4 separate regions of the Homo sapiens genome follow, and all the other regions are linked to region 3. Evidence: promoter capture Hi-C in 16 types of primary human blood cells and fetal thymus (Javierre and others, 2016). All regions are on one chromosome and are shown on one strand. Each heading gives the region's core, a stretch centred on a gene start or on the middle of the fragment in contact. The rest is flanking DNA. Distances are from core to core; before and after follow the strand shown. Region 1 overlaps SAC3D1 (SAC3 domain containing 1). Region 2 has its middle 11 kb from the start of NAALADL1. Region 3 holds the start of CDC42BPG (CDC42 binding protein kinase gamma). Region 4 has its middle 7.4 kb from the start of BATF2.

Region 1 (5,060 bases), core at 2,561-5,060, 200 kb after region 3:
GAAGGAGTACAGCCGACCCGCCGCCGGCAAGCCCCGGCCCCCGCCCAGCCAGTTGCGTCCGCCCTCCGTGCTGCTGGCCACCGTGCGCTACCTGGCCGGTGAGGTGGCGGAGAGCGCCGACATCGCCCGCGCCGAGGTGGCCAGCTTCGTGGCAGACCGCTTGCGAGCTGTGCTCCTGGACCTGGCGCTGCAGGGAGCGGGCGACGCCGAGGCAGCTGTGGTGCTGGAGGCGGCGCTGGCCACGCTGCTGACCGTAGTGGCGCGGCTCGGGCCCGACGCGGCGCGGGGACCCGCGGACCCGGTGCTGCTGCAGGCCCAGGTGCAGGAGGGCTTCGGCTCGCTGCGGCGCTGCTACGCGCGGGGCGCCGGGCCGCACCCCCGCCAACCCGCCTTCCAGGGCCTCTTTCTGCTCTATAACCTGGGTGAGTCGGGATCCTGGCGGCTGGGCAGAGCGTGGGGACAGGAGCCCACCATGACAGTGGAGGTAGGGAAAGGAAGGATTAGCTTTAACATCTCACCATTAGCCCCCTCCCAGGACAGCACAAGATCCACCGAGCCCCGACGTGGGACCTCGGGCCCATCTCTGGGTCTTAGTTGTCTCAGGAATAAAAGTGGAGGGGGCAAGGGTGGAAAGGGAGAATTGGTCTAAATAGTGATTTTCAAACTTTTTTTTTTTTGAGTCTCGCTCTGTCGCCCAGGCTGGAGTGCAGTGGCGCGATCTCGGCTCACTGCAACCTCCGCCTCCCTGGGTCAAGCGATTCTTCTGCCTCAGCCTCCTGAGTAGCTGGGATCACAGGCGCGCGCCACCACACCCAGCTAATTTTTGTATTTAGTAGAGACGGGGGTTTCACCATGTTGGTCAGGCTGGTCTCGAACTCCTGACCTCGTGATCCGCCCACCTTGGCCTCACAAAGTGCTGGGATTACAGGCGTGAGCCACCGCGCCCGGCTGATTTTCAAACTCTTTTAACCTCCCCGCCCAGTCAGGGTTACCAAGCAAACAAGAACACATATGCCCACGAATATACCTGAGACAGAAGTTTAAGGCATTAGAGATACTTTCTATGGGCGATGCATTCCAATAAACTCTTATTATTTGTTTCTTTCTTTGTTTTTGAGACAGAGTCTAGCTCTGTCGCCCAGGCTGGAGTGCGGTGGCATGATCTTGCCTAACTGCAACCTCCGCCTCCCGGGTTCAGGCTATTCGCCTGCGTCAGCCTCCCAAAGAGCTGGGACTACAGGCGTGCACCACCACACCCGGCTAGTGTTTGGATATTTAGTAGAGACAGGCCAACACCATGTTGGCCATGCTGGTCTCGAACTCCTGACCTCAAAATGATAGCTCACCTCTGCCTCCCAAAGTGCTGGGATTACAGGCGTGAGTCACTGCACCCGGCCTGTTTGTGTTTTTTGAGACAGGGTCTCACTCTTGCCCAGGCTGGAGTACAGTGGCTTAATTATAGTTCACTGCAGCCTCAACCTCGTGGGCTCAAGGGATCCTTCTGCCTCAGCCTTCCAAGTAGCTGGGACCACAGATGTATGCAATCACACCCGGCTAACTTAAAAAAATTTTTTTTGTAGAGATGGGATCTCGCATGTTGCCACTCGAATTCCTGGGCTCAAGTGATCCTCCTGCCCCACCCTCCCAAGTAGCCGGGTGTGGCCATCATGCCCAGTGAATGGTTTATTTTTGTCCACACTGTTCCTCTGAAGAAGGCATGGTAATTATCCCTGGTCTAGTGGGGGAAGAAATCGAAGCCCAGGGTGGTGAGGTGACTTGCCTGTTGACACAGCACTGGTTAACAGTAGTAGTGGCAGGACCATGATTTTCTTTTCTTTTAATTTTTTAAAATTTATTTTTATATAGGGATTGGAGTCTTGCCATGTTGACCAGGTTGCTCTCAAACTCCTGGGCTAAAGTGATCCTACCGCGTTGGCCTCCCAAAGTGCTGGGATTACAGGCATGAGCCACTGTGCCCAAATAAGCTCTGTTCTGGCTGGGCCCTCTCTACTAAAAATGCAGAAATTAGCTGGGTGTGGTGGTGCATACCCGTAATCCCAGCTACTCAGGAGGCTGATGCAGGGGAATCACCTGAACCTGGGAGGTAGTGGAGATTGCAGTGAGCCAAGAGCCACTATACTTCAGCCTGGGTGACAAAGCAAGTCTGTCTCAAAAAAAAAAAAAAAAAAAAAAAAAAAAGGCCCTGCCCTATACAATTTTAACAAAATGCTGTTGACTTCACAACCTACTTATTGGTCAGAAGCCCCAGTTTACAAATGAGGGCCAAGGTTCCAGTGTCTGAGACTCTTCCAGAAGGGAAGCAAGGGCAGAGTCTCCTGAAGGAAGGGGCCTTCCCAGGTGGTCAGGGGAAAGTGGGGCAGAGTTGGCTTCCAAAACTGTGGGTACAGGGAAGCCAGGGTAGTGGGAAATCCAAGTCCGAAAACTTGGACTGGGGTCAGGCTCAACTACATACCCGCCCTAGGACACTCTCAGGCGAATCATTCAATTATCTGGGCCAGCTTCCCAAATCCGTAAACCCTGCCCACTTCAGTGTTGTAAGTAAGGATCTGGACTGCAGGAAGTCAAGAGCCTGAGGCCACTCATTCAAATATAGGTTGGGGAAGGAGCCAAAGGCTGGCCCTTAGAGGGGAGAGGGAAGTTGGGCTAGGCCTAGAGAAGGGGCGTGGTCGAGGAGAGAGGAAGGACAGGGTGTTGGGAGGGGAGATGAGCCTGATCCTGTAAGGACCAGGCGTCCTCATTCTGGCTTCCCGCTCTCACAGGCTCGGTGGAAGCCCTGCATGAGGTTCTACAGCTGCCTGCTGCCCTGCGCGCCTGCCCGCCCCTCCGCAAGGCCTTGGCGGTAGATGCTGCCTTCCGAGAGGGCAATGCTGCCCGCCTGTTCCGTCTGCTCCAGACCCTGCCCTACCTGCCAAGTTGCGCTGTGCAGTGCCATGTGGGCCATGCCCGCCGGGAAGCCCTGGCCCGCTTCGCTCGTGCCTTTAGCACCCCCAAGGGCCAGACCTTGCCTCTGGGCTTCATGGTCAACCTCTTGGCCCTGGATGGACTCAGGGAAGCACGGGACCTGTGCCAGGCCCACGGGCTGCCCTTGGACGGAGAGGAGAGAGTTGTGTTCCTGAGGGGTCGCTACGTGGAGGAAGGGCTACCGCCTGCCAGTACGTGCAAGGTGTTAGTGGAGAGCAAACTTCGAGGACGTACCCTGGAGGAGGTGGTCATGGCAGAGGAGGAAGATGAGGGCACGGACAGACCTGGGTCCCCAGCCTGAGGAGGGAGCGTGAGCCTCCCAGAGCCCCAGGACTGGGCCAGAGCACTTAGGTTTCTTTTTCCATGGTTTCCAGGTAATAAAAGGAACTTGTTTTGTTGGTACCAGTCACTAGATGTGATTTATTTGAGGGGCTGTTGTAGGGAGTTAGGATACACAGCATGCAGGGAGAGGAACGCAGACTAGCCAAGGCCTAAGGTACCCCAAGACTCACTTTCGCCACTGGTCCTTGGCCTTGATGACCTGAGTTGGCATCTGAGGTTGGCACGCATCCCATCTCCACCCACCTGCCACCAAGGGCAGTTGGTGGTTTTGCCATCCCATCCCTGTCCCCTGCTGCCCACCCTCTGCCACCTAAGCACCAGGATGAGGGTGAGTTGCATTAGGGCTTGCCACTCCCCTCAGGGACCTCAAGCTGTTGCCTGAGAAGCTTGAGAGGGTCCTGTGGTAGTGCCCTCTTCTGGCACCAAGGAAGACCAGGACATCTCAGGAAAGCAGGCAGGAGAGGGTTGGAGTAAAGGGAGGGCTGAAGAAAGAGGGCTGGGGTCAGAGGTCAGCCACAGGCCTCAGGGTGGCTGCCGCACCCTCCAGGGCTGTCACCACAATGCTGAGCTGTCTCTGGACCTCAGCCCAAGCTTCAGATCCAGAAGCTGTGTCCCTGGCCCTGGAGCAGGCATTGGATAGGCCCGGGAATGTGACTACGGAGCCCGTGCGAGGTGCCCAGAGCACATGGCTGACAAGAGAAATGGGACAGGATCAGGGTCAGTCAGTCAGGGGCCAGGAAAGAGAAGCCTGGGCCTAGAACTGGCTCAGCTCCTGTACGCAGCGAGGCAGAAAAGCACCCCCGTCCACTTGTCTCTGAAGGCCAGGGAGCTCTTACAGCAGTGGCGGTCGGGGGAGGAAATGTGGGTTCCAGTCCTAGCTCCCAGAGGGACCCTCAAGCAACTTTCCTCCCCTCCCTGAGCCTTACATTCCCATCTTCTTCAGGGGCTGGGTTGCACTCTAAAGGGCAGAGAAGCTGACCACCTCGTCTCAGGTGGGGAGCCATTGTCCGGCCCCACCTGGAGGCACCTCCCAGGACTCTGGGACAGACTCACCTGTAGTAGCGTTCCTCTGGGAAGGCTCTAGGGTTCAGAAAGGTCCGTTCCAAGAGCATCAACTGGTCATTGAGCATCCGGACCTGCAGGGGGCTGGTGGGGAGGCAGGAACTGCCAGTCACCCTGGAGCCAGCAGCCCAGCTACCAGCCTGGTATCCTGCCCTGGGTGCTGCCCTCCCAGCCCCTGCCCGCTGCCCTTGCTCACTCAGGGCTGCCCTTCTGCAGTGTTGATATGCGTTGGCCCAAGGCTGCAGCTTCTGCCTCAAACTTCTCCACTGCAGTCACCAGAGGCCCTGTGAGGAACAAGCAGTGGCTCAGTCATGGGGGTGCAGGGCTCCCCATACCTCAGGGTCAGGGCTGTGCATACCCAGGCTGATGCTGTGCTGCTCCAGCAGGGCCCCAAGATCTTGCTGGGCTGCCTGCAGGAAGCTGCGGAGTGTCTCACTGTAGTCACTGACTTTGAGGGGCAGGAAGAAGCTGTCACTGAGCCGGAGAATCACACTCCCCGCTGTCCGGGCCACAGCCTGATGGCTGCTGAAGCCTGCGGCAAGGTGACAAGGCCAGGGCTCAGTCTTCAGCCTCTCCTGTCCTGGTCTCAGGATGCCCCTTGTCTCCCTCCTCACCCGGGTCCAAAAACTTGTCCACATAGTCAAAGGTGTCAAAGGCTGTGTGGTAGGTGGGGT
Region 2 (5,881 bases), core at 3,269-5,768, 230 kb after region 3:
ATACAATAAGGTGGGCTGGACAAAGGGTTGCAGGGCTCGAGGTGGGTAGCCAGCCATGCAGGACAACCCGAAGCCCCTCTAGGAGAGCTGGGCTGGGAGGCAGGGAGGAGGCAAGACAAAGAAATGGGGTCCTGGCTCAGGGTCTTACCAGGTTCTGCAGCTTCTCCCCCAGGGCCAGGTTGTGCACTTGGGTGGTGTTCAGTGACTCCCGAAGCCTAGGGTTGAAAAACAGACCCCTCCCACCTCAGCCAGGCTTTTGTTCCAGGCAGCACTCCCCACCCCTCCCACCTCCTGCTTCAGCCACCTGGTCCTATAGCCACCTGGGACCAGTGTTTCAGTAAGAGCCCAGTCTTCCTGTCCCGGCAAAACCACAGGTGGGATGGGAATTGTTCTCCCTGAGTGATTGGTAGCAGGGGACCGAGAGAGAGACTAATTATGCTTTTTGTCTTCCTTTGCAAGAGCAGGGCAGGCTGCTTCTGTGGGTGGGCTAGAAACCCTCTGAGGCTCCCCTTGGAAGGGGTGGGTGGTATAGGGCTAGCCGCTCCTTTGGGCTGTAGGCAGGGTTGCAACAGGATTCTCTGTGGCTCCAGGCCAGTGACAGGGCCAATGCTGGAACCAGCCCTGCCTAGGCGCTCCAGGTCAGCTGTGTATGAATGGGAGAGCTGATCACTCAGGTCTATGGCCTGGAAGCCTCCGTCATGCCCTGCCCCCACCTCAGGACCTTTGCTGACAGATGGGGCTCTGACCCCAGCATTACCTGAGAGGGGCGAGCGGCCATGGGATTGTGTGGACCCCAGCTCCAGAGCCCGACATCCAGAGAACAAGCCCCTCCCCCAGACTGAACGCTCCTCAAGTTCTTGGACAATTAAAGGTGGGGGTTCCTGAATGCCCGTTCACCAGCCACGTGGGCCCTGACCTGAAAGCCAGGCCTGGCCTTGGTCGGGGGAAGCCCTGTCACCCTACCCGCTCCCATCTGCCCGCCCAGATCACCTCATGCAGTCATTCTGCAACTGCCTGATCTCCTTTGAGGTCCGCTGGGGGCCCCAGTCCTCCTGATCTAAGAACTGGTACTCCTGGATCTCCGAGTCCCTGGAGCAAGTGGGTAGTGAAGGTCAGGCCAGAGGGTCTAGGGGATGAGGGAAGTGGGTGGGTGGTGTGGGGGTGCCCAGCCAAAGGCCCCGGCTTCAGCAGGCCTCTCTGGGCCTCCTCTCTGCACGGGCCAGGACTGAGTCCTAGCCCAGGTTTGAATGTTTCTGGGTGTGGGGTGGGGAGAAACACCATCCACCTCCCCCAGTTTTGTGCGTGCCTGCATGTGCCTGCATGGGCACTCTCTCTCTCTCTCTCTCTCTCATGCAGCCTTACGATTCAGGGTCTTTTGGCTCAGTGGGCTCAGAGGTGTTCAGGAGTGTAAACAGGAACGTGACGGTGGGTTCCAGTTGTTCTGAGGAAGGTGGCTTTGCAGAGAAAGCGCCAAGGTGACTGGAGAGGGTCACGGCTGCTCACCCAAGAGCCTGGGTCCTCCCACACCCCCCATCCTTGCCATCTCCCTGTCTTTCAGGGGCCCCATCGTCTGTATCCCCCACCCTGTAGGGAAAGCCTGGTAGGAGGTATGAATGGGACCTGTCCAGGAGGCCCTCCAGCGCTGAACTCCCCTGCACCCATTCCTCAGCCCTGAACCCAGGAGCTGGGCCTGGACGCCCTGACAGCTGGAAGCTGGGTGTGACGACGGGGGTTCAGGCCTCCATTCAGATACAGGAAGAATTTCTCCAGCTCTCCTGCCTCCCCTGCCCACTGCCTTAGGAGGCCCTGGGGTTTCCCATCACCTCCAAGTTCCGCTCCTCGGAAGCCTGAGGGCCCTTGGGTTCTTGCTCCTCAACAGGCTGCACCACTGGCTTGTTGGCCAGCTTGGAGTGGGCTCTTTGTCTGCCCCTAAGAGACTGAGAGAGACAGAAGCCTGCTAGTCACTCACATCTACCATCCCCGCTATGCCATTTCTAGCCTGGTCTGGTTTTTAGGGGGCGGCTTCCAGCCTGGCGAGCGTCTATCACCAGCTCTGTCCAGCAAGCCAGACCCCCTCAAAGTGAAAGTTGCCAGATTTAGTAAATACAATATAGGCCCAGTGAAATCTGAATTTCAGCTGAAAATGGATACTTTTTCAGTATCTGTCTCACACAATGTTTGGGATATACTTACACTAAAAAACAATTCACTGTTCATTTGAAATTCAAATTTAACTAGGTGTCCTGTATTTTATCTGGCAGTCCTGCCAAACTACATGCTAAAAATATTTTGAGGCTGAGTGCAGTGGCTCACGCCTGTAATCCCAGCACTTTTGGAGGCCAAGGCGGGAGGATCGCTTGAGCCCAGGAGTTAGAGACCAACCTGGGCAACACACCAAGACCCCATCTCTGCAAAAAATTAAAAAATTGGCTGGGCATCGTGGCGTGTGCCTGTAGTCTCAGCCACTTGGGAGGCCGAGGTGGGAGAATCACTTGAGCCTGGAAGGTTGAGGCTACACTCAGGTGTGTTTGCATCACTGCACTCCAGCCTGGGCTTCAGAGCGAGACTCTCAAAAAAAAAAAAAAAAAAAAAGCTGAAGTTAATAGAATTGTGGCTATTTTTCACCCCGGTATTTTTCAGAATCTTGTGCATCTACTGGCCAAGTAACCACAGACATGGTCCTTCTTCACACTGAGTCCACCTGCGCCTCTAGATCCCCATGGACTTGTGGCAGGGGGCTTGTGGCCTGGGCTTGTGGCTGTGTTATATTGTACCTTTCTAGGCAGCCTAAAATTACACAATTCCTGACCACGTGACATAAACCGACAGCTCTGCAGAGGGCCCCGTAACCCTGGAAAGTCCCAGAGCTCCAGCGTGGTATGGCTGCTGGAGAATAGGTAGCTCTGTCACCAGGAGAACCTGGCTGCGTATAACAAGATCCACAGAACGATGGAGAGTCATGCCTCTGAGAACCTCACTTTGGAAACGGCTTAAAGAAACAACTCCAAATAAAAGTAATTCACATGGACGACCACAGTAGCTGATTTACACCATGAAGAAAAACTGGAAGGGGCCTAAAAGGCCCAAATATAAGAAGTGGTAAGGAAACAAAGACTTCTTCACATGGTAGGATACAATTCACTCATGCGCTTACTGGTCCCTGTAAACATTGCCTGTGGCGTAGGCCTTGGGAACATATAGATGGACACAACCTGGTTCTGCGCAGAAGTTTCCGGAAGATGAGGGAGGCCTCAGGTTTGCAGCTGACCACAGTGCGGGGGGATGAGCCACACAGAGGTTTGTACAGCGAGCCCTGGCTGCAAGAGGAGGGAGCCATGCATTCTGCTTCGGAGCTCCAGAGAGACTGCACACAGGATGTGCCGCCGGGTCTCAAACAAGGACGCAGGGGAGACCAGAAGAGGGAATGGTGTAAGCAAGAGCCGTGGGGTCCTGCGAAGGGCCCAAGACAGGGCCTGGGCTGTAGCCCACAGGGGACGAGGAGGCATAGGGATCTTTGTGTGTCTGTTATGTGGGCTGTTTGGCCATAGTTCAGAGGGTGAGTGGAAGGCGTAGACACTGGGGCCAGGATGCCAAGGGCCCTGGAAGTGAGGAAGAGAGGCAAGCCACCAACTGCTGCATGTGACAAGTGTCTAAACTCTGTTAATCCTGGAGAAGGTGTGCATGAGACCCTGTCACACCACAAAAGTGGGTCTTAACGGTGGTATGGGCTGGGTACCAGTGTACCCACGTAGGGTTGCCAAATAAAACACAGAATGCCAGGTTAAATTGGGATCTCAGATAAACGATGAATTTTTTTTTGAGACTTTATTTACTTTTGAGACAGGGTCTCACTTTGTCGCCCAGGCTGGAGTGCAGTGGCACCCTCATGGCTCACTGCAGCCTCGACTTCCCAGGCTCAGATGATTCTTCCACTTCAGCCTCCTGAGTAGCTACAACTGCAGGCCTGGCACCACACCCAGCTAATTTGTGTATTTTTTGTAGAGACAGGGTTTCACCATGTTGCCCAGACTGGTCTCGAACTCCTGGGCTCAAGTGATTCTCCTGCCTCCTCCTCTCCCAAAGTGCTGGGATTTCAGGCATAAGCCACTGAACCCAGGCAGGTTGAGAATTTCTTCTCCAAAATGCCTATCTAGAAGTGTTTTGGATTTCAGATTTCTTAGGATTTTGGAATATTAGCATTATCTGAAAATCCAGAATCCAAAATGCTACAGTGAATGTCAGGGCAGTGCTCACAGTTTGGGATTTTGGATTTTCTTTTCTTTTTTTTTTTTTTTGAGACAGAGTCTCGCTCTGTTGCCCAGGCTGGAGTGCAGTGGTGCAATCTTGGCTCACTGCAAGCTCTGCCTCCCAGGTTCACGCCATTCTCCTGCCTCAGCCTCCCGAGTAGCTGGGACTACAGGTGCCCGCCACCACACCCGGCTAATTTTTTGTATTTTTTAGTAGAGACGGGGTTTCACCGTGTTAGCCAGGATGGTCTCGATCTCCTGACCTCATGATCTGCCCGCCTTGGCCTCCCAAAGTGCTGAGATTATAGGTGTGAGCCACCGTGCTCGGCCGGGATTTTGGATTTTCAACCCACATATGCATACCCCATATGTGGCATGGAACATACTTGTACTAGAAAACTATCTATTATTTCTCTGATTTGGGAAACAGTTATTCCTTTTTTTTTTTTTTCCTGGGGACAGTCTCGCTTTGTTGCCCAGGCTGGAGTGTAGTGGTGCGATCTCGGATCACTGCAACCTCTGCCTTCCATGTTCAGGCAATTCTCCTGCCTCAGCCTCCTGAGTAGCTAATTTTTGTATTTTTAGTAGAGACGGGGTTTCACCATGTTGGTCAGGCTGGTCTCGAACCCCTAACCTGGTGATCCGCCTGCCTCGGCCTCCCAAAGTGCTGGGATTGCAGGCAAGGGCACTCTTACTCTTTAAAAATTGTGTTGTTTATCTAAGATTCAGGCTTAAGTGGGCATCTTGTATTTTTTGCTAAATCTAGCAACTCTAACACTATGGCCACATGTTGGTGCCCATCAGAGGACACTGGGAGGCATGAAAAGCTCCACGGTTACCAGTTGGTACGTGAGGAGGATGAGCAGATAGACAGACAGACAGGACTGGGGTCCTCTCAGGGTCCCACCAGCCAAGCACAGACAGATGCTTAATTCAGACTTGGACAGAAGATAGCTCAGGACCTGGATTTCAGTCCTGCTCTGCTGCTCATAGGTGGGGCAGCTGCAGGAAATCGGGCTCAGCCTCCTAGCCTGTGAAATGGGTATTCAACTCCACAAATATTGACTGAGCCCTAACTTTGTTGAAGGCCCTTCCCTGAATGTTGAGAAGGTACAAAAATGAATCTCCTCCTTTGAGGGGTTAATCACAGGCTGGGTAAAATGCTACTAGCCATCAGTGATGAGGAACTCTGCTGGCTGCTTTGCATATGACATCAACCTCCTGACCAACTCCGTTAGAGAGATGGAATTGGCCTCACTTTTCAGAAGAGAAAACCATGGCTCAAGAAGAGTCTCAGATGTGGGTGGACTGATACCCAAGCAGGTGGCTGTCAGGGAGCCTGCCAACCTGTCAGCCACACTGTGGAGAGGGGAAGGCAGCCTGGTCTAGGCCCATGTGTTGGGAGAACCACCAGGCCTGAGCCAAAGCCTCATCTGAAAGGGTGGTGAGCTACCGGGCTGAGGACCCAGGCGAGGAGGGAGGGGTCCATAGGCTGTGTGGGGAACTGCCCTGTGGAGAGGGAGGGTGAAGTCCACTCTCCAAGAAATGGGGACAGGTGTGAGCCATGGGGCTGGCTTCAGACCTCACATGCACACTGGTGGGACTAGAATTTGTGCTGTGGGAGGCTCATGACT
Region 3 (5,643 bases), core at 2,257-4,756:
TCTTAAAAAAAAAAGTTTATTGTAGGCTGGGCACGGTGGTTCACGCCTGTAATCCCAGCACTTCGGGAGGCCAAGGCAGAAGGATCATCTGAGGTCAGGAGTTCGAGACCAGCCTGTCCAACATAGCAAAACCTCATCTCTACTAAAAATACAAAAATTAGCTGGGTGTGGTGGCAGGTGCCTGTAATCCCAGCTACTCGGGAGGCTGAGGCAGGAGAATTACTTGAACTGGGAGGCGGAGGTTGCAGTGAGCCAAGATAGCACCGTTGAACTCCAGCCTAGTTGACAGAGCAAGATTCCGTCTCAAAAAAAAAAAAAAAATTTAAAAAATTAAATAAAGGGTTTATTGTGAGAAAGATAACAAATCAGTGGCTGCTGAGGGTGGCACCCTTTGCCTGGTCTGCAGCCTTGCCCGCCCCCCCCGCGCCATAGGCCCTGGCAGCATACACCTCCCCCACACCCATTTGTAGGGTGCCCAAGGGCCCCCCAGACTCCACACTGACCTCAGCCCTCTTCAGCATCTCCCACTTGTGCAGCATTTTCATGGCAAAAATCTGCCCAGTGTCCCTCTGCCTCACCACGGTGACCTAAGGCCACAGGGAGGACCGGGGTGAGCCCAGCCCGGTGTGAACACCTCCCCCCACCTACCCCAGGCCCTTTGCTCACCTCCCCAAAGGCTCCTCGGCCGATCACCTTCAAGATCTCAAAGTCATCTCTCTGCAGACGCAGTTCTTTCACCTTTGATACGAAGGGGCTGGCTGAGGGGACACAGGGCGGGACTCAGAGTGCAGGGAGGGAGGGCTCCATTCCCCCTCTCACCTTGGGCAAGCCAGGAGCTGCCGCTCCTGTGAGCCCAGGCAGGGATGACCTCCCCAGGGACAGCCTCGGGCCAAGGGGTTGTGGCAGGAACTGGTGCTCCTTTGGCCATGATCAGGAAGTGCGGAAGGTCAGAGGCCGGGCTCAGCTGACCGCCTGGTCCCTGGACCTCCCTGGACCCCTGGCCCCAGACTCTAGGCAGCCTCCATCCCAGGGGCTGATGGGACTTGTAGTCCTGCCCAGTCTGCGGCCTGACTCTGCTTGGCCAGGTCACCCTGGGGACCATGGGGACACCATTCCTACCCCCACCTCACAGTTCTTGGCCCCCTCACAGGTTCAGGCCAGGGCCTGTCTTAGGAAACTGGACGGGTGACATTCCTTATCCCCAGAGAGGCTTCTCTCCCATTCAGGAGCTGTGGGCCTGGGTCCCGGGACCCTGTAGGCATAGAGGTGCCTGGTTGGGGGTGAGGCCTGCAGCCCCTAGGGCAGGGAGGACAGGCTCTATGCTTCCCACGTGGGGCCCCTCAGGCTGGAGGCATGGATGCCAGTCTGCCAAGGTGCTGAGACTCACAAACAGGACAAAGATGCCTTTCCCTGGTGCTAGCACTAGCCCCTGAAGGCGTGAGTGCTCAGGATGCCTCCAGGCCTGACCGGCTCTCTCACTCCCAGCCCTGCCTCCCTGTCTGGACGAAGCTTTTGTCTGGTCAAGAACGTCCTCTTTCCTCACATCCCAGATACCTCCAGGAAGGGCAACTCCAGCCACTCCCAGGCACTTTCCAGGCCTGGATTAGCCCCAGGTTTTGGGAAGGAATTGGGTCTTAGGGAGGCAGGAGTGATCAGTCAGGATGGGGGGCAGCTGTGGTCTGGCGCCCTGCCTCAGTTTCCCCCTGCCAGGAGGTAAACTCCCTGCCAGCTGGGCGGGTCTGTGGGTGGGACAGAGAGCTGTTCCACAGGTTTATCAGGCAGAAGCCCGCAGCGGGGGCGGGGTGGAAACCTCATTACAGAAATTCATTGTCTCTTTCCCAGGTCTGTGTGTGGAGCTGGGGAGGAGCAGCCCCGGGCCTCCCCGTGGGAGTTGAAGCCAGCACCATAGGGACCCACCCGCCAGAAGAGGGCCGAAGCCCAGGCCCACAGGCAGGAGGATCCAGGCCCCTGGACAGGCTGCCTAATCCTCTGGCCTCCCACAGGGCATGGGGGCTCCGGGCAGGAGCAGGGACAAGTAGAGACAAGCAGGAGAGGAATGAGTCACAGCCCTTTGAGTTACCTTGGGAGATTGTCAACAGAGGGCCCCCATGCCGGGGTCCCAGGCAGAGGTGCTGGAGGCAGTCAGGGAGGAGCACACATGTGTGTGCAAACACACACACGTGTGTGGGTGTCATGGGGGGGGTGACAACAACACAGGCAGACAGGCATAGCACGGAGGCATACCAGGGAGACAGGCACAGAGGCAGGGGCCTCTGACTGCCTCGCCCTGGATGGAAGGGTTGGGGCTAGGGGACAACTCCCTGGCACATCTAGGTGGCAGCCTCCCCCTCTACCCCAGGCCTTGTGCCTTCCCAGAGCTCAGGAGTGCCAGGAACGCTAGTTGCCCACTGGGCAAACACCTGCCTCACCCCGCCCTGGCCAGGCCCCCGTGCCTTTTCCCCATGGCCCGGCAGGGTGTGACCAGGGAACCCTCCAGCTGGCGCCAGTGCCCACAGTGGGTTCAGGGTCACCCCGGGCCAGCCACTCCCAATGACTCAGATGAGTCTACCAGGAAAGGTACAGACCCATCTCCAGCTAGGCCCCCCTCCCCGGCCCCGGCGCCACAGCCCCCAAGGAGCTTGGCCAGCAGCCTGCACAGGCCAAGGGTTGGAGATCGGTTCCTGAGTCCAGGCTGCAGTGGTCTTGTACCCAGGGAGCTGGGGGTGTGTGTGTTGGTGGGGGGAAGGTCTGCAAGTGTGCGATACCTACAGATCTGTGTGTTTTGCAGTGCCAATGCGGTCGGGGTGGTCTGCAGCGCTCCCTGGGTCTCTCCATGAGTTGTGTGTCTCAATGCATCCGAGAGGAAGGAGAAACAGAGCCCGTGTATCAGTGGGTGACATGCATGAGGGTCTGTGTGTGTCCTGCGTCAGGTGTGGCCTGTAAGCAAGGAAATCTGTAAGGGACTCTAGGCGGTGCACTGGGTACATGCGTCTGCGGTCGATACCTGAGCACAAGTTGGTATGTGTGTGCATGTGTCGGGGTCTGTGAGAGGGAGAGAGCGTGTGTGAGAATTGGAGTGAGGGTGAGGTGTGCAGGCGAGTGTGCGGGCCGCGGGGGTCCGGTGGTACGCGTCAGGGCCACTGCAGGGAGTCTGCGAGGGAAGCCCGTGGGGGTGCGGGTCCCTGCGGGAAAGTCTGCGGGTGCGGGGGTCTCGGCGCGATATCCCTAGGCCCGCCCCCGCTCCGTGCCGCCCCGCCACTCACCCCAGCTCAGGAACTGCGCCACGCTGCGCTCCCGCCGTAGGGGGCCGCTGCTGAGCTCGTGGTGCAGCGCCAGCAGCAGATCTAGGAGGCCGTCGAGCCCCGGGCAGCCGCCGGCCTCGCCCCGCGCCAGCTGCTCCAGCGCGCGCAGCCGCCGCTCCATGGCTGCGGCCGGAGCCTCGCTGCTCGGCTACAGTCTGGCCGCCCGCATGCCCGCCTGTCGGGCCGTCCGTCCGCCCAACCGTCTGAGGCTCTGTCCGCGCGTCCTCCCCCGCCCCTCTCCCGCCCTCCCCGCTGTCACCTTCCTCCGCCGCCGCCAGCGCGCCCTCACCTGGGCGCCGCGCCCCGCCCCCCGACGGACGGGCAGGTGCGCGCCGGCCAATGGGAGCCGCGGCTAGAGGTGAAGGTGGGGGCGGAGGCGCGCGGGGGCGGGCCCAACTCCCGGCCAGGAAGTGCGGGGGCGGGCCGGGGAGAACAACTGACTTCTGCGCGGGGCGCGGTGGGGTTCTGCGGGGTCGGAAAGACTCCCCAGATCCCCGCGCGGCCCCAGACCCAGACTTACCTGGGCCCTCCCTGGGCCCTGACCCAGGAGGCGCGGAGCACTGCAACTTCTCTCGCCCCCTGGGTCGCAGCCGCCTTGCCCTTGGCTAAGAGAGAGGGGCTAGGGACGCCCGCGGCCCCGGAGCCGGATGGGAATTGTAGTTCGCTCTCTCCATGGTTTGCCCGCGCTTGGCACCCATCGCCCCCCCGCCCCCGCCCAAAAAAAAGTTTCTGAATCTTACTTTGATTGTATCATTAGAGTTGATGTGGGAGACAGGAAGTTGGGGTAGGGATGGTCACGCCCATTTGGCAGATGGACACACTGAGGCTTGGGAAGGAGGAAGGCGAATTGAGGGGCTGAGGACAAGGTGGCTCTTAAGTTAGACCCTGGGGTGGAGGTGGAGCTGGGCTGGTACCAACACCACAGGCGTTTTAAGCTTCAGTAGGAGCAGGGCCTGAGGTCTGACCTGGAACGTGAAGGGCAAGGAGAGGTCTGAGATAGGCTGGAGGAGGTTGGGGAGGGGAGGGGCTGGCTCTGTCCAGTGGTATTTCTGATTTCTGTCCAGCTGGGATGGACCAGGCACCATGAGGAGAGATCAAAGGGTGGGACATATTGGTGGCTTCAGACAACACTTTTTTTTTTTTTTTTTTGAGACAGGGTCTCTCTGTCACCCATGCTGGAGTGCAGTGATGCAATCATAACTCACTGCAGCCTTGACCTCTTAGGCTCCTGCCTCAGCCTCTTGAGTAGCTGGGATTACAGGCAGATGCCACCACACCCAGCTGATTTTTTATTTTACTTTTTGGAGTCAAGGGTTATTGTTATGTTGACCAGGCTGGTCTCGAACTCCTGGGCTCAGGTAATCCTCCCACCTTGGCCTCCCGGAGTTCTGGGATTACAGACATGGGCAACTACACCCGGCCTAGACAACACTTCTTTCTCTTTTTTGAGACAGGGTCTCACTCTGTCCCCTAGGCTGGAGTGCAGTGGTGCAATCGTAGCTCACCACAGCCTCAACCTCCTGGGTTCAAGTGATCCTCCCACCTCAGCCTCCCGAATAGCTGAGACTACAGGCTCACACCACTAGGCCAGGCTGATGTTTTGTTTTTTGAGATGGTGTCTCACGCTGTCACCCAGGCCAGAGTGCAGTGGCACGATCTCGGCTCACTGCAACCTCTGCCTCCCAGGTTCAAGAGAGTCTCCTGCCTCAGCCTCCCAAGTAGCTGGGATTATAGGCATGTGCCACCACACCCAGCTAATTTTTGTATTTTTAGTAGAGATAGGGTTTTGCCATGTTGGCCAGGCTGATCTCAAACTCCTGACTTCAGGTGATCCTTCTGCCTCGGCCTCCCAAAGTGCTGGGATTACATGCGTGAGTCACTGGGCCCAGCCATGTTTGTATTTTTTATAGAGATGGGGTTTCGCCATGTTGCCTAGGCTGATCTCAAACTCCTGGACTCAAGTGATCTGCCTGCCTCAGCCTCCCAAAGCGCTGGGATTACAGGCTGTAGCCACTGGCCAACACATTATTTCATTAAAAGACCTGTTTAGGGGTTTGCCTCTCCTCTCGTACTGGGACCTCGCTGAGATGGGGGCAGGATCAGGTTGAGGGAGGAGGTGTTCCATGAATGTTTGAAGCAAACAGGGTGTTTCTCCCCACGAAGGGTTTTTCATGTGATTATTTGTTTATTTATTTATTTATTTTAAAGAGACAGGGTTGCACTATATTGCCACGTTGGCCAAGCTGGTCTGACCTCAGGTGATCCGCCCACCTCGGCCTCCCAAAGTGCTGGGATTACAGGCATGAGCCACCATACCCAGCCTTTTTTTGAGACAGGGTCT
Region 4 (5,817 bases), core at 2,699-5,198, 160 kb after region 3:
AACTCCTGACCTCATGATCCTCCCGCCTCAGCCTCCCAAAATGCTGGGATTACATGCATCAGCCACTGCACCCGGCCGTAAGTGAAGTATTCTCCATGCAGCTGCTCATGAAACCTTCACCAGGAGGCAGCAGATATCTGTGTTAGAGGAGTCTCTCTCCCTTATTAGATGATCTAAGTTAAGTTACTACCAAGTCTAGAGTGCACCAGCTTCAGACACGAGGCCCAAACGATGTCATCAGGAGTCAAACTCTTACTCTATTTGCTGTCCTCCAGGCTGGCTACATTCTCAGGCAGAGCCCGGTCATGGGAGTAGGATGGCCACCAGAAACACCAGCTTCACAGCAACCCAGGGCAGGCACATCCCCAGCCCCTCCCACTTTCCCAGTAGCTCCAACAAAAGTCCCAGGCCTGGCCTTCCTTGGTCTGGCTTGGGTCATGTGCCTATTCCTGACATCAATCACTGTGACCAGGTGAGATTGGCAAGGGCAGGGCCTCAAGCCCATCCTGGAGCCCAGGGTTGGGGTGAGCCCCATCTAAACCATAAGGACTAGGGGTGAAGAAGGGGCAGTTCCCCAGGGCATCGGGGTACTGTTGGCAAAAGAAGGGTGAGTAGATGCCAGCTGATCCCACAACCTCAGCTCAGCTTCCGACATGAGGAAGCTGCCACTCAGCAGCACGTCCCGGGCTCTGGTCACCTCCCCAGGTAGATGGACTCCAATTCCCCCGTATCTCTGATACTAAGCCCGGCACTCTTCCTGTCCATTATTTCACACTGCTCAAGATGCGGAGGAAGGTCCCAGCAGTCAAGGACCCGTGGACAGGAAAGCAAGGGCTTGCCAAAGGATGATTCCAGATGTACTGAATGCTGGGCAGGGACAGGGGAAGCCACATCATGGAGACTCCCCAGGGCGTGGGGAGAGAAGAACAGACTTTTGCTTTCAGCACATTGTGCATACCACATTTCAGCGCTCATTAAAGATGGAGTCTGGGCAGGGCACGGTGGCTCACACCTGTAATCCCAGGACTTCGGGAGGCTGAGGTTGGCAAATTAAGAGTTCGAGACCAGCCTGGCCTACCTGGTGAAACCCTGTCTCTACTAAAAATACAAAAATTAGCCAGGCATGGTGGCACACACCTGTATTCCCAGCTACTCAGGAGGTTGAGGCAGGAGATTCGCTGAACCTGGGAGGCGGAAGTTGCAGTGAGCCGAGATTGCGCCATTGCACTCCAGCCTGGACAACAGAGAGATACTCTGTGTCAAAAAATAAAAATGAAAAAAGTTGGAGTCTGCAACTAGCTGGGCCTCCCAGGAACTAAGTGACTTCCCCTGGGCTCTATGGGGCTCTTCACTGCCCGGTCCTCGGTGCACCTTCCCACGCTCACTCCCCTCCCCAACCCCCAGTCCTGCTGGCCCTTTGCCACCTCCAATGCCTTGAGCTTCTGAGTCTCTGCCATTCCTTTAATGTACTTACACATCTTTCTGGGAAGCGGTCTGGAACTTCTGGAAATGGGAAGGCAGTATAAATTATAAACAGCTGAGCTCTGAAGAGTCTGAGAGCATCCCAGGGCTTTGTTTGTTTGCAAATGGCAGTTGCAACCATAGCTCCTAGATTTTCCCAGGCGGTTCAAGCCCCGGAAAGACCAGGGTTCAAATCCTCGCTCTGTCCTGCTACTGTGTGAGCTTGGACAAGGCCCTTGGTTTCTCTGGGTTCTCATTGTCCTTGTCTGTAAAATGGTGATAATTCCCTCACTTTGCCAGGGCTGCCATGATGACTGAAACAAAGTATGGAAAGTGGTCACCAGTGACCTCAGAAAGGATAAGTCCCTCGCTCTTGTCCTAGTTACCCCTAAAGACGGGAGGGCCTCATGTGGAGGCTGGTGCCGGGAACTGGCCAGCCGAGCTCACGGAGCAAGGGACTGGAGGGCTGGCTGGTGTGCAGTGGGGTGGGAAATGAAGCCCAACCCAGACTAGCTAGCGACTCAAAATGCAACAGACAAGGCAGTGCTGCCCTTGGCAGAACCAGCACCAAGGATAGCACCAAGGATAGCACCAAGGGTGCAGGAGAGCTTTTGCCATGCAAGTCAGCAGTCAGTCACAGCCAGAGGACTCCAGAGATTCTCCAGTTTGTTTTGCAACTGGGGAAACTGAGGCCTGGCAAGAAGAGGGGAACTGGCCAAGTACAAGGAGGCGGCAGAAACAGGCAGACCCAGGTTCTGCTGCAGCCTCCATGTTCTTTTCTCATCTTATTCCTCGCTGATCCAGAAAACATCTCGGGGCCTGGAGTGGAAATAACAGGGGCACAGGACACCCTTAGACGGCAGGGAGCATTTGTACCTGTTGCTGGTCTGCAGGAGCAGGACTGATTCCCAGAGGCCCCAGACCAGGGTCCCAGGAGCTGGAAAGGGGGCCCCATCTAGAAGAAAGTCTGGGGATGGGGTCCTCTGGAGAACTGAGTTCACCTGCAGCTCACGTTCACCAAGCTTCGAGGTCTCAGACAGCCTTGTGCCCTCTCTGGACCTGTTTCCTCATGTGTAAAATGAAGGAACTTAAGCAGGTGCCCCGTGGCTCACACCTATAATCCCAGCATTTTGGGAAGCCAAGGCAGGAGGATTACTTGAGCCCAGGAGTTCGAGACCAACCTGGGCAACACAGCAAGACCCCATCTCTACCAAACAAACAAACAAACAAACAAACCCAAAAACGAAAACAAAAATTAGCTGGGCATGGTGGCATGAGCCTGTAGTACCAGCTACTCAGGAGGCTGAGGTGGGAGGATCACTTGAGCCTGGGAGGCAGAGGTTGCAGTGAACTGAGATCACATCACTGCACTCCAGCCTGGGCAACAGAGTGAGACCCTGTCTCAAAATAAATAAAATAAAATGAAGGAACTTGACAATGACTTCTCAGGGTCCTTCTTGCTGTGCTGGAGGCCGGGGCCTGCCTGTGCCTCTTGGGAGGCCTTTTTCTAAACAAGGGACTAGCAATGAACCGAGGCTGGTGCTGCAGACAGAGACCTGGGTGCCTCCCCCAGCACTGCCATCTGCCTTCCACTACAGGGCTCAGTCTTCCCTTCCCACCACCCGTCAGGAAGCAGTACCTATGAGATGCCCTTTTTTTTTTGAGACAGAGTCTCGCTCTGTTGCCCTGGCTGGAGTGCAGTGGCGCAATCTCAGCTCACTGTAACCCCTGTCTCCCGAGTTCAAGCAATTCTTCTGCCTCAGCCTCCCGAGTAGCTAGGATTACAGGTGCCCAGCACCATGCCCTGCACCACACCCAGCTAGTTTTTGTATTTTTAGTAGAGATGGGGTTTCGCCATGTTGGTCAGGGTGGTCTCAAACTCCTGACCTCAGGTAATCCACCTGCCTCAGCTTCCCAAAGTGCTGGGATTACAGGCATGAGCCACCGTGCCCAGCCAAGATGCCTTTTTTGATTTGGGCCTGGTGTGGGAGTTGGAATCTGTGGGGATCTCAGAGAGCGGGAGCCGGGTCTGCCTCAGTTTGGGGGGCTGAGAAACCTGATGGTAAGAACAAGGCTGGTGAAGCCCTGCTGCTTCCTGTCCGTGTGAGCAGCTAGAAAGCAATTCACAAACCTCTATCCTTATTTCTATCACGCAGCAACTATTTCCTGAGCATCTCTTATGTGGCAGGCCCTGCTCTAGGTGCTGGGAGACATCTGTTTTTTAAAAAAAGATCCAAATCCTGCCCTTGTGAAATTTCCATCCTAGGGAGGAGCAGGGAGACGATAATTACATTAAGTGAATTATCTAGTCTGGTGGGAGTCCACAGGTACCAAGGGGAAAAGAGAGCTAGGTAAGGGCCATGGGGAGTGTGGGGTAGGGGATTTCACATGTAAATAGCGGGGTCAGACTGAGCCTCGTTGAGATATTTGAACAAAAAAAAATTGTTTCTGACATTGGACTTTTGAGCAAAGAATTAAAGACGAGAGAGCCGTGACAGTGAGGTACCGGCTGGGGTCGGGGGGCAGAGTGGTGTAGTGGACTCCTGGGACTGGCAGGGTCCAGGGAGCAAGAGATTGGGGTGGAGGCCACGGGCCATTCATGCAGGGGCTCATAGGCCAGTGAGAACCTTGGGCTTTTACTCTGAAAGATACAGAGAGCACCAGAGAGCTCTGAGCAGAGGAGAACATGATCTGATGCATAGGTTAAAAGGGTCCCTGGTCGGGCTTGGTGGCTCACACCTGTAATCCCAGCACTTTGGGAGGCCGAGGCAGAAGGATCACTTGAGGTCAGGAGTTCGAGACCAGCCTGGCCAACATGATGAAAACCCACCTCTGTAAAAAATACAAAAATTAGCCGGACGTAGTGGTGCATGCTTGGAAGGCTGAGGTGGGAGGATCACTTGAACCCAGGAGGTAGTGGCTGCAGTGAGCCGAGATTGCACCACTGAGCAAGACTCTGTCTCAAAATAAATAAATAGGCTGGGCATGGTAGCTCACACCTGTAATCCCAGCACTTTGGGAGGCAGATGTGAGCAGATCACCAGAGGTCAGGAGTTCGAGACCAGCCTGGCCAACATGGCGAAACCCTGTCTCTACTAAAAACACAAAAATTAGCTGGGTATGGTGGTGGATGCCTGTAATCCCAGCTACTCGGGAGGCTGAGGCAGAAGAATCGCTTGAACCCAGAAGGCAGAGGTTGCAGTGAGTCGAGATCACGCCACTGCACTCCAGCCTAGGTGACAGAGTGAGATTCCATCTCAAAATAATAATAATAATGATAACAAATAAAAATAAAAAATAAAAAGGTTGGCCAGGCGCAGTGGCTCATGCCTGTAATCCCAGCACTTTGGGAGGCCGAGGTAGGTGGATCACCTGAGGTCAGGAATTCGAGACCAGCCTGGCCAACATGATGAAACCCCATCTCTACTAAAAATACAAAAATTAGCCAGACATGGTGGCTCATGCCTGTAGTCCCAGCTACTCTGGAAGCTGCGGCACAAGAATCATTTGAACCCAAGAGGCGGAGGTTGCAGTGAGCCAAGATCACGTCACTGCACTCCAGCCTGGGTGACAGAGTAAGACTCTGTCTCAATAAATAAATAATTAATTAATTAAATAAAAAAGGGTCCCTGTGCCTTGGAGCAGGGGAGCAGGGAAGCCGGTCAGGAGGCTGCTGCAGCGATCCAGGTGAGTGGGTGGGGGGGTCTGTCATGCGGAGAGAAGAGTGGTACCTGCCTCTTAGGTTCCGGAGTGAGGGCACAGCAGGACACGGGCAACCAGGGGCAGCAGCTGCGCTCCTGCGTTCATTCACCAGGCCTGGCCCCATGGAGGCAAGAAGCATCTAGCACAGCTTTGCTCCTGAGGGGCCACAGGCAACAGGTGAGGTGTACGAGCACATGGCTGTTGGAAGATCTCAGATTTTCAAGTCCTTTCTACCTCCTAAGGTTCTGGAAAAGCTTGCAGATGTCATGTGCCTTTGCGTGGTGAATAACACCTCCTTTTGTCATCTGGAGTTGGAGAGGATGCCTCTGCTGCCTCCCACACAGGCAGCTGGGCTAAGACCTGTAATGCAGATGCTTGAACACTCTGACTTGTCTTATGAGGCATGCAGCAGTGGCATGCAGGATGTACACACCCACTGAATCATCACTGACCAGCACTGAGGACCTGGCTGCCTTTGGATATGTAAAACCTACATAGGCTGAGCACAGCAGCTCACGCCTGTAATCCCAGCACTTTGGGAGGCCGAGCTGGGTGGATCACTTGAACCCAGGAGTTCAAGACCAGCCTGGCCAACATGGTGAAACCCTATCTCTTCTAAAAATACAAAAATTAGCCAGGCATGGTGGTGCATGC

What was found. Contacts are between HindIII fragments. The CHiCAGO score rates a contact against its expected background, and 5 or more counts as called.
Region 1: a fragment that was not itself captured here is called in contact with the fragment with the promoter of CDC42BPG in region 3 in 4 of 17 cell types (M1 macrophages, erythroblasts, endothelial precursors and 1 more); the score reaches 7.3 in M1 macrophages.
Region 2: a fragment that was not itself captured here is called in contact with the fragment with the promoter of CDC42BPG in region 3 in 8 of 17 cell types (endothelial precursors, M0 macrophages, M1 macrophages and 5 more); the score reaches 7.9 in endothelial precursors.
Region 4: a contact is called between a fragment that was not itself captured here and the fragment with the promoter of CDC42BPG in region 3, in 5 of 17 cell types (M0 macrophages, M2 macrophages, endothelial precursors and 2 more). The highest score is 9.5, in M0 macrophages.

What each region holds. Positions count from the first base shown.
Region 1 is chr11:65,041,445-65,046,504 of GRCh38, forward strand. It overlaps SAC3D1 (SAC3 domain containing 1), which reads left to right. Exons shown (of 2, transcript NM_013299.4): 1 at 1-422; 2 at 2,781-3,384. The coding sequence ends at 3,283. NAALADL1 (N-acetylated alpha-linked acidic dipeptidase like 1) reads right to left here. Exons shown (of 18, transcript NM_005468.3): 14 at 5,001-5,060; 15 at 4,745-4,918; 16 at 4,583-4,670; 17 at 4,378-4,470; 18 at 3,374-4,013. The coding sequence ends at 3,827. Among named protein-coding and RNA genes, the nearest start is that of SAC3D1, 2.8 kb to the left of the region's middle. RefSeq lists silencers at 1-364, 385-434 and an enhancer at 2,386-2,932. The HindIII fragment of the contact is 205 bases long and covers 3,709-3,913 here.
Region 2 is chr11:65,066,665-65,072,545 of GRCh38, forward strand. It overlaps a transcript of CDCA5 not described here. Among named protein-coding and RNA genes, the nearest start is that of NAALADL1, 11 kb to the left of the region's middle. RefSeq lists a silencer at 93-387. The HindIII fragment of the contact is 9,772 bases long and covers 1-5,881 here.
Region 3 is chr11:64,841,147-64,846,789 of GRCh38, forward strand. It overlaps CDC42BPG (CDC42 binding protein kinase gamma), which reads right to left and starts at 3,507. Exons shown (of 37, transcript NM_017525.3): 1 at 3,264-3,507; 2 at 667-758; 3 at 504-587. The coding sequence starts at 3,423. RefSeq lists enhancers at 545-1,357, 1,851-2,145, 2,170-2,982 and silencers at 3,197-3,246, 3,277-3,326, 3,337-3,686. The HindIII fragment of the contact is 2,728 bases long and covers 1,508-4,235 here.
Region 4 is chr11:65,001,473-65,007,289 of GRCh38, forward strand. No RefSeq gene overlaps it. Among named protein-coding and RNA genes, the nearest start is that of BATF2, 7.4 kb to the left of the region's middle. RefSeq lists an enhancer at 4,968-5,817. The HindIII fragment of the contact is 2,934 bases long and covers 2,482-5,415 here.